Linked DNA regions of Homo sapiens: region 2 is linked to region 1. Evidence: promoter capture Hi-C in human tissues and cell types (Jung and others, 2019). All regions are on one chromosome and are shown on one strand. The core of a region is centred on a gene start or on the middle of the fragment in contact, and the rest is flanking DNA. Distances in the headings are between cores, read along the strand shown.

The links. The method cuts DNA at HindIII sites, captures the fragments that hold promoters and counts their contacts. A contact is called where the count stands out against the background at its distance.
Region 2: a fragment that was not itself captured here is called in contact with the fragment with the promoter of DDX6 in region 1 in 2 of the 25 tissues and cell types used here (hippocampus and liver).

What each region holds. Positions count from the first base shown.
Region 1 is chr11:118,788,935-118,794,587 of GRCh38, forward strand. It overlaps DDX6 (DEAD-box helicase 6), which reads right to left and starts at 2,230. Exons shown (of 14, transcript NM_004397.6): 1 at 2,164-2,230. RefSeq lists enhancers at 830-1,387, 846-1,025, 2,336-2,445, 3,062-3,617, 4,006-4,115 and silencers at 1,226-1,305, 1,936-2,265, 2,716-3,005. The HindIII fragment of the contact is 8,574 bases long and covers 1-3,019 here.
Region 2 is chr11:118,742,989-118,748,641 of GRCh38, forward strand. It overlaps DDX6 (DEAD-box helicase 6), which reads right to left. Exons shown (of 14, transcript NM_004397.6): 14 at 4,775-5,653. Among named protein-coding and RNA genes, the nearest start is that of DDX6, 45 kb to the right of the region's middle. The HindIII fragment of the contact is 8,714 bases long and covers 1-5,653 here.

The DNA.
Region 1 (5,653 bases), core at 980-3,479:
CCTCCTAAAGTGCTAGGATTACAGGCGAGAGCCACCGTGCCCGGCTGAAATCTTACTTTTAATTGGAGTTAATAAAAACATACAAAGACACGAAAACAAAGCCCTACTCTGTTGGCTTTTGATTTAACCCCGTTACACTTTTTTTTTTTTTTTTTTTTTGAGGCGGAGTCTCGCTCTGCCGCCCAGGTTGGAGTGCAGTGGCACAATCTTGGCTCACTGCAACCGCCGCCTCCTGGGTTCAAGCGATTCCCCTGTCTCAGCCTCCCGAGTAGCTGGGATTACAGGCGCCTGCCACCACGCGCAGCTAAATTTTTTCTATTTTTAGTAGAGACGGGGTTTTGCCATGTTGGCCAGGCTAGTATCGAACTCCTGACCTCAGCTGATCCGCCTGTCTTGGCCTCCCAAAGTGCTGGGATTACAGGTGTGAGCCACCGCTCCCAGCAACCCCGTTACATTTCTTATATAAAATACACTAGCTTACGAGTGCTGATTCTTTCTGCCATACACCAAGGCATGTGAAACTCAAAATTTTAAAGTCAACAGATCTCAACATTTATGAAGAAAATGCTCCTTGATTATGCCTTCCTTAAAAAAAAAATGAACAAGTTGCTCACAAGCAAATCCTGATTATCACATACACAAAGCTGTTTACTTCAGACTCTGACCTCTTAAGCAGATATGGTTAACAGCTACTTTCCTGTATTGACGGTTTTATATTATGATCAGCGATATCACGCAGTTCACAGAGACTTAGCTGTTTGCAGAGCACTAAGAGGATGAAAAGGGCAACCTCTAAAGACCGAACGATATCATCATTACTGTCCATCATGCACAGTAAGACCTCCTATATCCTTAAATCCAAAATGAGACTATGTGATAACTGCTCCCTTCTTAAACTGAAACCTGCACTGCAGCTTTTTCTCAGAGAAGGAAATATTCCTCCTACCCCTTCCCAATTTAGATTTGCAAGTTTTCTACATTTTCAAAAACAAAAAACAAAAAAACAAAAAACAAACAACAAGAAACGTAGACTAGTTGGGAGGAGCCCCTAGCGGAGTTAATTACAGCACTTCACAGATCGTAGTTAGCAATTGACAGTTTCACACCCAAAACAGTATCGTCATCGCCAACAAGAGCTTTTGTTTGCAAATGCAGCGCAGTTTTTCTAGCTTTGCCTGCAAGTTGGAGTGACTGGGTTTTATTCTGAAGGGAAATGGGGGCTGAGGAAGAGAAAGGAGAGAGATACGGGAAAGAGTCATTGACTAATGACTGGAACCCCGTAACTGAAAGGAAATTTCTTGTCCCCCCGCACCCCGCCCCACGCCCCAAACACACACACTTCTGACCATAAACACAAAAGGTTGGGGCTCTGCAATCTTATCTGCGCAATATGAGCCAGCAACCGCTCCATTAGTAGCAAACAATAGGGACTCCCCCAAGGAGGCCCCAAATGGACCCCCTAAACCAGAAATCCCCCTCCTTTCCTCCAAGAGTCGGGGGCTCCATAAATACCCTCTTGTTATTGACCCGCAAGGCCTACTGCAATCAAGCAGCGGCCGGTTTGCTTCTAAACCGAGCCCTCCAATACAGCATGTCCCTGCCGCCCCCTATAGGGCCGCCTCGTACCCTATAACCTCCACCATCATCCCCCTAAGTCCTTGCCGCCCCCTTCGGCCTCATATTCCCTCATCTTCGATAAAGCTACTCCGAGTACTTAGCCTGTTCCTCCTGCCGACCCTGCTGCGCACCACATTCCTATATTCGCCTCCTCTCAGGCGCTCCCACCCCACACAGCTGCCGACCGCCTTCCTCCCCAGGCCCGGCCAGGCCTTAGGCCTCCGCCCGAGAGTCCCCCAGAGCCGGCCCGGGGGGCTCCCCACAGCCCCCAAAGCACCGCTGACCTCGACCCCACCACCTCACCCCAAGCCTCGCGACTCGGGCCCGTGTCCTACCAACGAGGCCACTCCCGCTCGGCACCCTCGGTCCTTTATTGTTGACTCGAAGCTCCCAAAATGGCGGACGCTCCTTCCTCCTCGGAAACCTCCGCCCGCCCCCACCCAGCCCTCTCGCTACGGCCTCCTCTCGCCCCCGCCCCCGCCCCGCTCCGAGGGGCGCGCAGGCCAGCCGCCCGAGCCGCCGGCTCCCCCGGCTGTCCAGCCCTACCTCCTCCGCTGCCCGCTCTCGTGGCGCCGCCGAAGTCGCCGCCTGGCTGAGCTAACTCGGCTCCTCTGCCCCCTCCCTCGCTCGCCCGTTCGCCCGCCCGCCGCCTCCTCCCTCTTTCCCTGCCTCTCCGCATGGCGGCGACCGCGGCTCCTCCTCCACTCAAGATGGCGAAACCTCGGCCGCCGCGGCTATATTCGCCGCGGCGTCACTGCCTTCCTGGCCTGGTGGTGAGAGGAAGTCGGGCCGCGAAAGCTTCCTGAGGAGAAAATGGAGGGCCCTTCTCTCACACCGACGAGAAAAGTTCGAGGGGGAAATACGAGTTCCTTTCTGAAGGGACAGGACGGCTGCTTTTCCACAGCCGCGACGTGATTGAGAAATGGTGGCTGGCAAGGGTAGGCCTGCCTTCGCCCCTCCAAAGTAAAAATCGGGAGTTGAGACCAGAGGAACATCTCTTTATTACATGACTAAGGATATGTTTTGAAAACTGGCCCCCGGGCAGCTGCTCGGGGACAGGAAGCTGACCTGACTTCTCCAGCTGGCCGGGGAGGCTGATGCCGGGCCTAAGGGGCCGCGTCCGAGCCTCTCGGGGCGCGCCTCCATGCAGGAAGGCGCGGAACTAGCGACCCGGAGACGCCGGGCGCGCGTCTGAGTGTGGGGGCAGGAAGGGGGGCCGACCGGGCCCGGAGGCCGCACCAGGCAGGAGGGAGGACTCCAGAGAGTGCGCGGGGGGCGCTGCGCGGTGGGACGGGGCGAGCCTGTAGGGCGCGCCTGGCGGCGGGTAGGCTCCGGGCTTGAGGGTGCGCCTGGGGGCGCTGGTTGTGGGGGAAGGCACCGGGCTTGAGGGTGCACCTGGGCGGGGGAAGTCTTCGGGCATGAGGGCGCGCCTGCGGGTGGTATGGGGGGGTACACCGAGCTTGAGGGTGCGCCCGGGGGGCTCTCATGTGAAGGGTACCAGGCTTGAGGGCGCCCCTGCGGGGGGCGCAGAGGCACCGAGCTTGAGGGTGCGCCTCGGGGGTCTGCGGGGGGAAGGCACCGGACTTGAGCGTGCGCCGGGAGAGGACGGCGGGGGACCGGACTGTGAGGGCGTATCTTGGGGGACCTGTCTAGGAGGAACCGGGAGGTGAAGGCACAACTGGGGGTGAGGCGGGGGCAGGGGCCGGGCTGTGAGAGTGCGACTGAGGGGGGATTACTCCGGAGAGCACGGAGCTGGGGGCGTTGCGCAGGTGGAGTGGGGAGGCCTGGTGGAGAGGGTAGCAAACCGAGAGAGCGCACCGGGGTGGTGGGGGGAGAAGCTGGACTGTAAGGTGAAGAGTTAGTAGGGCGCAACCGTCTTCTCCTGCCCTCGAAGGGCAAGACTGAAGAAAGTAGGGGCGGAGGAGGCCGGGCCCTCCACTAAAGGGAGGGAAGCTAGTGAAGCGTCAGTTATAATAGAAATAGGAATTCAGTAAGGAAATGGAGAAGCTTAAGGCAAAGGGTGACTCTCCGGCCTGACCCTCACTATGAAGATATTTATGTATGTTCCCATAATACTTTTCAGATCCCAATGTCTGTGTTTATCCTTGACAGAAATAATAGAACTGCTGTCTTCTTCCAAGTTAAACAAAACTTTGGAGCTAAAAGCTAGCTAGGTCAAGAGAAACAAAATCTAATCCTCACCCAATTGAGAGACTGAATATACAAAGAATGGCCAAACCTAACCATGACCTCCTACCCATAACCTCTTCAGTAATCGGCCAGAAGGGTCAGGACTTAATCTTTAACCGGCAGCTTCCCTATTTCTTGCCCCTGCTTCCAGCTCTGGGCCAATCAGAGAAAGCCAAATGTGCTCCTCACACCAATCGCGTAAGAAGCCCTGCTTCTAGTATAGCCCTCCTCCAACTTCCCGATGCCAACATCCTCCAATCAGAGCCAACCTGAAGTTTCTCCCTTTTTTCAGTATATGTAAAGCTTTTCCACTCCCCTGCCTGCCTATGAGTCTGTTAAATCAAGTGATGGGTCGCGGCTGACTCTTGCCAGCTCTGAGTAAATAGCCTATTCTCATTTGGTGGTCGTTATTTCTACACAGCCGGTGGGAAGGTGGTGGAGAATAGTGAAGACTATTCTTAAGGTTAAAAAGAAGGTTCGGCTTACATTTTTTTTTTATTTTAAATTTACAGCATGGCGTCTCCAGCCCAGGTTTTAAAATACCTTCTAATGTAAGGAAATAGCCCTGCACCTTGTGCCCATCCTAGAGAGAAAATGGTTTCTTAATAAAAAATGTATGAGGCCTTTTTTGCCCCAATATCTTCCCAAGCAGAGGAATGTGAAGGGGGGTTGGGCCAAGAAGTGAGTGGTAGGAAGAGAGGCCTACGGATTTAAAACAGGCCACTGCTTGGAGGGGTGTCTTTCCTAAACCACTGAAGAAATTGAACCAGGCAAAGGAAGGGGGTTCACACCCACAAATAAACTATAACCTACAAAAGGAGCCCGGGTTCACATCCACAAATAAATTGTAACCTACACAAGGAGTCTGGTTGAGGTCACAAAACAAAAGCCAGGAGGCAACCAAAAGTAGAATATGAAATAGGTGCTGCCTTCTCACCTAGGAATCCTTCCAGGGCTAAAACCTTCAAATATTCTGCTTTTAAGGTAGTCAGATACCCTCACAACTCATTTACATCAGCCCTTCTCTGTTTTCAAGTGAGAAGCATAGATGGTTTAGAATTAAGCTATGAACTCTTGGATCTTTTCTTCCAAGTTTAGTGTTAGTGGTAGATAGGTCTAGTCCAACTATCTCAATACATTGTTTTCTCCCTAGTTAAAACAGATTTGCAAGAATCATTTGTATGACACTTTAGGAATACAGATAAATTGCTAGTGCAAATAATATCCTTATATTTATAAAATATATGTGTACTTTTAAAAAAGTTATATGAATCCAATCCTCTGGCCTTTTAGTTAGTATTGAGTGTGATAGTTGTGGGAGATCTGTAGTAAATACGGTTTCTGAAGGGTGTGCTATCATCCCTAATGAACTCACCTATTAATTGTGGTAAAGAGTTTTTCACTTGGGCTGGGCACGGTGGCTCACGCCTGTAATCCCAGCACTTTGGGAGGCCGAGGCAGGTGGGTCGACTGAGGTCAGGAGTTCCAGACCAGCCTAGCCAACATGGTGAAACCCCGTCTGTACTAAAAAAAAAAAAAAGAAAAAAAATAGCTGGGCATGGTGGCAGGTGCCTGTAATCCCAGCTACTTGGGAGGCTGAGGCAGGAGAATCCCTTGAACCTGGGGAGGCGGAGGTTGCAGTGAGCCAAGATCGTGCCATTGCACTCCAGCCTGGGCAACAAGAGCAAAACTCCGTCTCAAAAAAAAAAAAAAAAAGAAAAAGAAAAAGAAATGAAAAAAAAAGTTTCCCAACATGTATTAGCCGTTTTCATGTTGTCTGTATTCACCTTTGCGTCATCACCCCTCTTCAATTTCCTCCTGGAATTCAATCACAGTAATGGGTTAT
Region 2 (5,653 bases), core at 2,690-5,189, 44 kb before region 1:
GCCCTTTTGGGATAAGGCTAGAAGGCCGGGCCTGGTGGCTCACGCCTGTAATCCCAGCACTTTGGGAGGCCGAGGCGGGCGGATCACGAGGTCTGGAATTCGAGACCATCCTGGCCAACATGGTGAAACCCCGTCTCTACTAAAAGTACAAAAAATGAGCCGGGTGTGGTGGCACGTGCCTGTGGTCCCAGCTACTTGGGAGGCTGAGGCAGGAGAATCGCTTGAACCCAGGAGGCAGAGGTTGCAGTCAGCCCAGATCGCGCCACTGCACTCCAGCCTGGCAACAGAGCGAGACTCCGTCTAAAAAAAAAAAAGGCTAGAAGGGGGACCCAGATTCAGATTCCCTTTTATTCAAGGAACTGGCCTTGTTGAGGGGAGTTCAACAGACTAGCTCAAGTCAGAATTCTCTTCAACAGATCTAGAGCTTTTCTGTTTATACAAATCAAGTAAAACTTGATTTTCAAAGGCTGCCATCTATTTCAGTCCTAGGGACAGTGGAATCAATTAGCTAACACCAAAAATATCTACAGATAAGGGCCCTTCACCAAAACTCCCAAGGAGGCCTTCTCTTTCTCTTTGAATGTTAATTGCATGTTCCTTCTTTTTTTTTTTTTTTAAGACAGTCTTGCTCTTGTCACCCAGACTAGAGTGCAATGGTGCGATTTCAGCTCACTGCAACCTCCACCTCCTGGGTTCAAGTGATTCTCCTGCCTCAGCCTCCAGAGTAGCGAGGGATTACAGGCGCCCACCACCATGCCCAGCTAATTTTTGTATTTTTAGTAGAGATGGGGGTTTCACCATGTTGGCCAGGCTGGTCTCGAACTCCTGACCTCAGGTGATCCACCTGCCTCAGCCTCCCAAAATGTTGGGATTACAGGTGTGAGCCACCGCACCCAGCTGGCATGTCCCTAATTTTTATTTCTCTTATTCTTCTGCATGCACTCGAGGGCCTATTGTCACTATAATTGTCACAGCTCCCTTTCCCCATGCCTTGCCCTTTACCTCACTCCATCCCATGGTACCACCAGTCAAAATTTGAATTGTGACACCACTGTATGCCATGGATCACTCATGTCCCATTCCCGGCCTCCCCTCCACCACCTCCCATGAGGAGGTTATTGAGCTCTTCAAGTATGACTAACCCAATCCCAGATCTAATTTTAAGAGTCTGTTTCCCAGGGCCACTTCTGGTACCAATTACTCTATCAGTCTGGATCCCAAAAAGAAACAGATGGCGCACTTGTAATAGCATAATTTGAAGAGGACTTATGTAGCAGAACTTAACAAAGGGAGGCAACAGTTACCAGAAAATGAGGCAAGAGTCATGTAGATTCAGACTCAGTAAGAGACCTCACGCTGAAGGACGAAGCAGCTAGAGACAATCTTGCAGGGAGGGAATTAGAGGCAGACACACTCTAATTAGGGAATTAGAGGACCTTACTGTCTTCCTTCCCACTGATTTCCTGGGGGGAATCCCTGGTGAGCAAACCCAAATGGAAGCCAGGGACCAAAGGGAATGTTAGTGTGGTTCATACGGGCCAATCTGTGGAGACAGTGAGCTTAGAGAACAGCCCTGAAGATGTAGGCACCTGCTACACTCTCTATTCTGTAATTAGATTAATGAGATAATGGAAAGACAACCGGGGAATCTAAGAATCAATACTTTCCCACAGAGTCTACAAGGAAGTCTGACCTTAGACCAGACTGTACAGTACTGTTAAGTGATTTTCATATCCGTTCTCTTTGCTCCTCTGATTGAAGACATGTCCCCCCACATTCCTTTATAGACAGGGTAGTGCAGTGAAAGAACTGAATTTGGAGACAGGTTATCTGACTTGACTTTTTTTGTTGAGACAGTCTCACTCTGCCCAGGCTGGAGTGCAGTGGCACGGTCTCGGCTCAATACAACCTCGACTCCTGGGTTCAAGTGATTCTCCTGCCTCAGCCTCCTGAACAGCTGAATTTACAGGGTGCATGCCACCATGCCCGGCTTTTTTTTTTTTTTTTTTTCTCGAGACGGAGTCTCGCTCTGTCGTCCAGGCTGGAATGCACTGGCACGATCTCGGCTCACTGCAACCTCCGCCTCCCGGGTTCAAACAATTCTCTGCCTCAGCCTCCCAAGTAGCTGGGATTACAGGTGCCCACCACCATGCCTGGCTTATTTTTTTGGACTTTTTTTTTTTTTTTTAGAGACGGAGTCTCGTTCTGTTGCCCAGGCTGGAGTGCAGTGGCACGATCTTGGCTCACCACAACCTCCGCCTCCCAGGTTCAAGTGATTCTCCTGCCTCAGCCTCCCGAGTAGCTGGGATTACAGGCATGCACCACCATGCCCGGCTAATTTTTGTATTTTTAGTAGAGACGGGGTTTCACTATGTTGCCCTGGCTGGTCTCGAACTCCTGACCTCGTGATCTGCCTGCCTTGGCCTTCCAAAGTGCTGGGATTACAGGCATGAGCCACTGCATCTGGCCAATTTTTGCATTTTTGTAGAGACAGGGTGTCACCACGTTGGCCAGGCTGGTCTCAAACTCCTGACCTCAAGTAATACCCCCACCTCGGCTTCCCAAAATGTTGGGATTACAGGTGTGAGCCACTGTGACTGGCCAATGTACTTTTCCAATGTACAATCTGTAAATCTTTGAAGTCTCCTTAACATTTTTTTTTGAGACACACACACACACACACACACACACACACACACACACACACACAGGATCTATGTTGCCCAAACTGGATTTGAACTGCAGGTACTCAAGCGATCCCCCAGACTTAACCTTCTGAGTAGCTGGGACTACGTGTGCCACTGGGCCCAGCTTTCTCCTTAACTTCTGAATTTACTTGAACTAAATTCTAATTCCTATTATTCTAAGTTACTACTTATTCTATATCCTCCACAGCTCACTTAATTGATAAGAAGATTTTAACAGCTGCTTATCAATCTTCTCCATAACATCGCATGTTCAGCTTTCTGCCAAACCCAAACAGGTCACGGATTCTCTCGTTTTCTTCCAGAAATTATAGTTTCATGTTCTACTTTTAGGTCTATGATCCATTTCTTTTGTTTTTTGAGATAGGGTCTTGCTCTGTCACCCAGGCTGGAGTGCAGTGGCGCAATCTTGGCTCATTGCAACCGCCCTCTCCCGGGTTCAAGCAATTCTTGTGCCTTAGCCTCCTAAGTAGCTGGGACTACAGGCATGCACCACCACGCCCAGCTAATTTTTATATATTCAGTAGAGGTGGTGTTTTGTGATGTTGGCCAGGTTGGTCTTGAACTCTTGGCCTCAAGTTATCTGCCTGCCTTAGCCTCCCAAAGTATTGGGATTACAGGCCTGAGCCACTGTGCCTGGCCGTATGATCCATTTTGAGTTTTTATAGAAGGCACAAGGAATGGGTGAAAGATTTTTTGCAACATATTCAATATCACTTATTGAAGACTCTATTTTCTTCATTGAATGGCCTTTGCACTGTCAAAAATCAACTATATTTGTGTGGGTCTATTTTTCGGCTATTCTGTTCCATCAATACATGTCTATCCTTTTGCTAATACGTTACTGCATCTTTATATTGAGTCCAAATCAGGTAGTGACTCCTCCAATTTCTTCCTATTACAGAATTGTTACAGCATAATTTGCCTTCCCATATAAATTTTACTACTTTAGAGAGGTCTATGTTGCCCAGGCTGGCCTGGAACCCCTGGGCTCCACTGATGTTCCCATTTTATCCTCCTGAATAGCTGGGACTATAGGTGAATGCCAACACACCCAGCATTCCACGTTATTTTATAGAATCAGCTTGTGGGTATTTACAAAAAAGCCTATTGGGATTGACTGGAAATGCATTGACCCTCTGGACCAAATTGGTGAAACTCAAGATTTATTCTTCCAGTCCATGAACCATGGCATCTCCATTTATCTAGGTCTGATTTTTCTGTCAGTTTATTTTGTAGCTCCAGCATATAGGTATTGCAGTTGTTTGCCCCTTGGTATCCATGGGGGTTGGTTCCAGGATTCCACCCTCCCTTGCAAATACCCAAACCCTCAGATGCTCAAGTCCCTTATATAAAATGATGTAGTGTTTGCGTATAATCTCTGGACATCATCTTGCACACTTTGTCATTTCCAGATTACTCGTATCTAGTGCAATAAGTGCTACGTAGATAGTTGTTATACTGTAGTTCAGAGAACAAGAAAAATCTGTACATACTCAGTACAGACCCAACCATTGTAGGCCTAACACTTTTGGTCTGCAGTTGACTAAATGTGCAGACGTAAAACCCAGATACAGGGGACTGACTCTATTTTCTTAGTTATACTTAAGCATTTCTTTGGGTAGAGAGGTAGTGAGAGTGATGTGCTCAACTTTAAGTGTCTGCTTTTCCCAACTTTTATTTCCCAATCTTTTATTTCATCAGTGGTTTGTAGTTCTCAGCATATGAATTCCATTCATACTGTTAAGATGTAGTATGCCTTGGTTTTGGGGGTATGTTCAGCTTTACATTTGAGAACAATTGTAGGAGGTGGTAATTACTGATGTATTTGGACATATTATGGACCACATCTCCCCTCTTCCCAACCGATTATCTTGGTTCTCCATTTAGGCTGTGAAATCTGACAGCATGGTGGAACAGTATCTACAACAGATGAAGGGGCTCTGAATTCAACTGGGCTTCACAGGAATGATGGGTTGAGAAATGTCTGTTTCACAGTATGAATTACCTGAGCAAAATGCTCAGATTCCTATGCACACAGCTGCTACTAAGGACATACCACACACACATTTGGAGTTCCAGTGGGCTTTTATTGAGATAAATTAACAAAAACCAAGATTTTACCATATTTTTGGAACCTTATAAACTCAGCAGACTCCGGTCCATATATGCGTACATACAACATAACACATCCCAACAAAAACAGAGCCCCCCCCCCCCCCACTGGAACATCTGCCAATTAAGAGAAAGCCAATTTTCCCTTCCCCCAATGTTTCTGAAATTTTGAGTTCCCACTGTTCACTTCTCAGTGGAACTGGTCCCTTGTGGCTAGGGACATTGGAATTCTCTACCATTTTTACTGAACAAAAAATAATTTTTTTTCCTGTTTCAAAAAAGGGAATAGTGACTTTGTTTTCTCCAGGCTCCCCTTCCCACACAACCAATGTAAAATACAGCAGCCTGTATCTTAATAACCCAGCCCTACCCCCTCCCTTACCCAGCATTGTCTACTGGAGAATTTAAATACACTTCTGTTGGAATCTGTCAGCTGTGGATGGGCAGAGTCCAGGTGCCAGGCTAGCTCCCTCTGACCTCATGAACTGTGACAACCTTTGGACACTTAACTCTTTACCCCAAAGATGAGTTTTTAGATCAGAAAGGAGAGCAGATTTTCTTTGGGAGTTTTAAAAAACTATCTTTAGATTTAGAGATACAAAGTACAACTACAATCTCACAGAAGTCCACTAAAGTTCACCAAAAAGCTGACTTACTTCAGCTCTCATGAGGCCAATAATTTTGATAAAGGTATCTGGCAGGAAAATGATTCCACAATAACAAATTTAAAGATACCTAGAACATTGAAAAAAATAGCAAATTAAAATAAATGGCTTAATTTCCAAGAACTTATTTCATTTTTTTGTTACTCATCTAGAAGGTCAGGAGTGTGG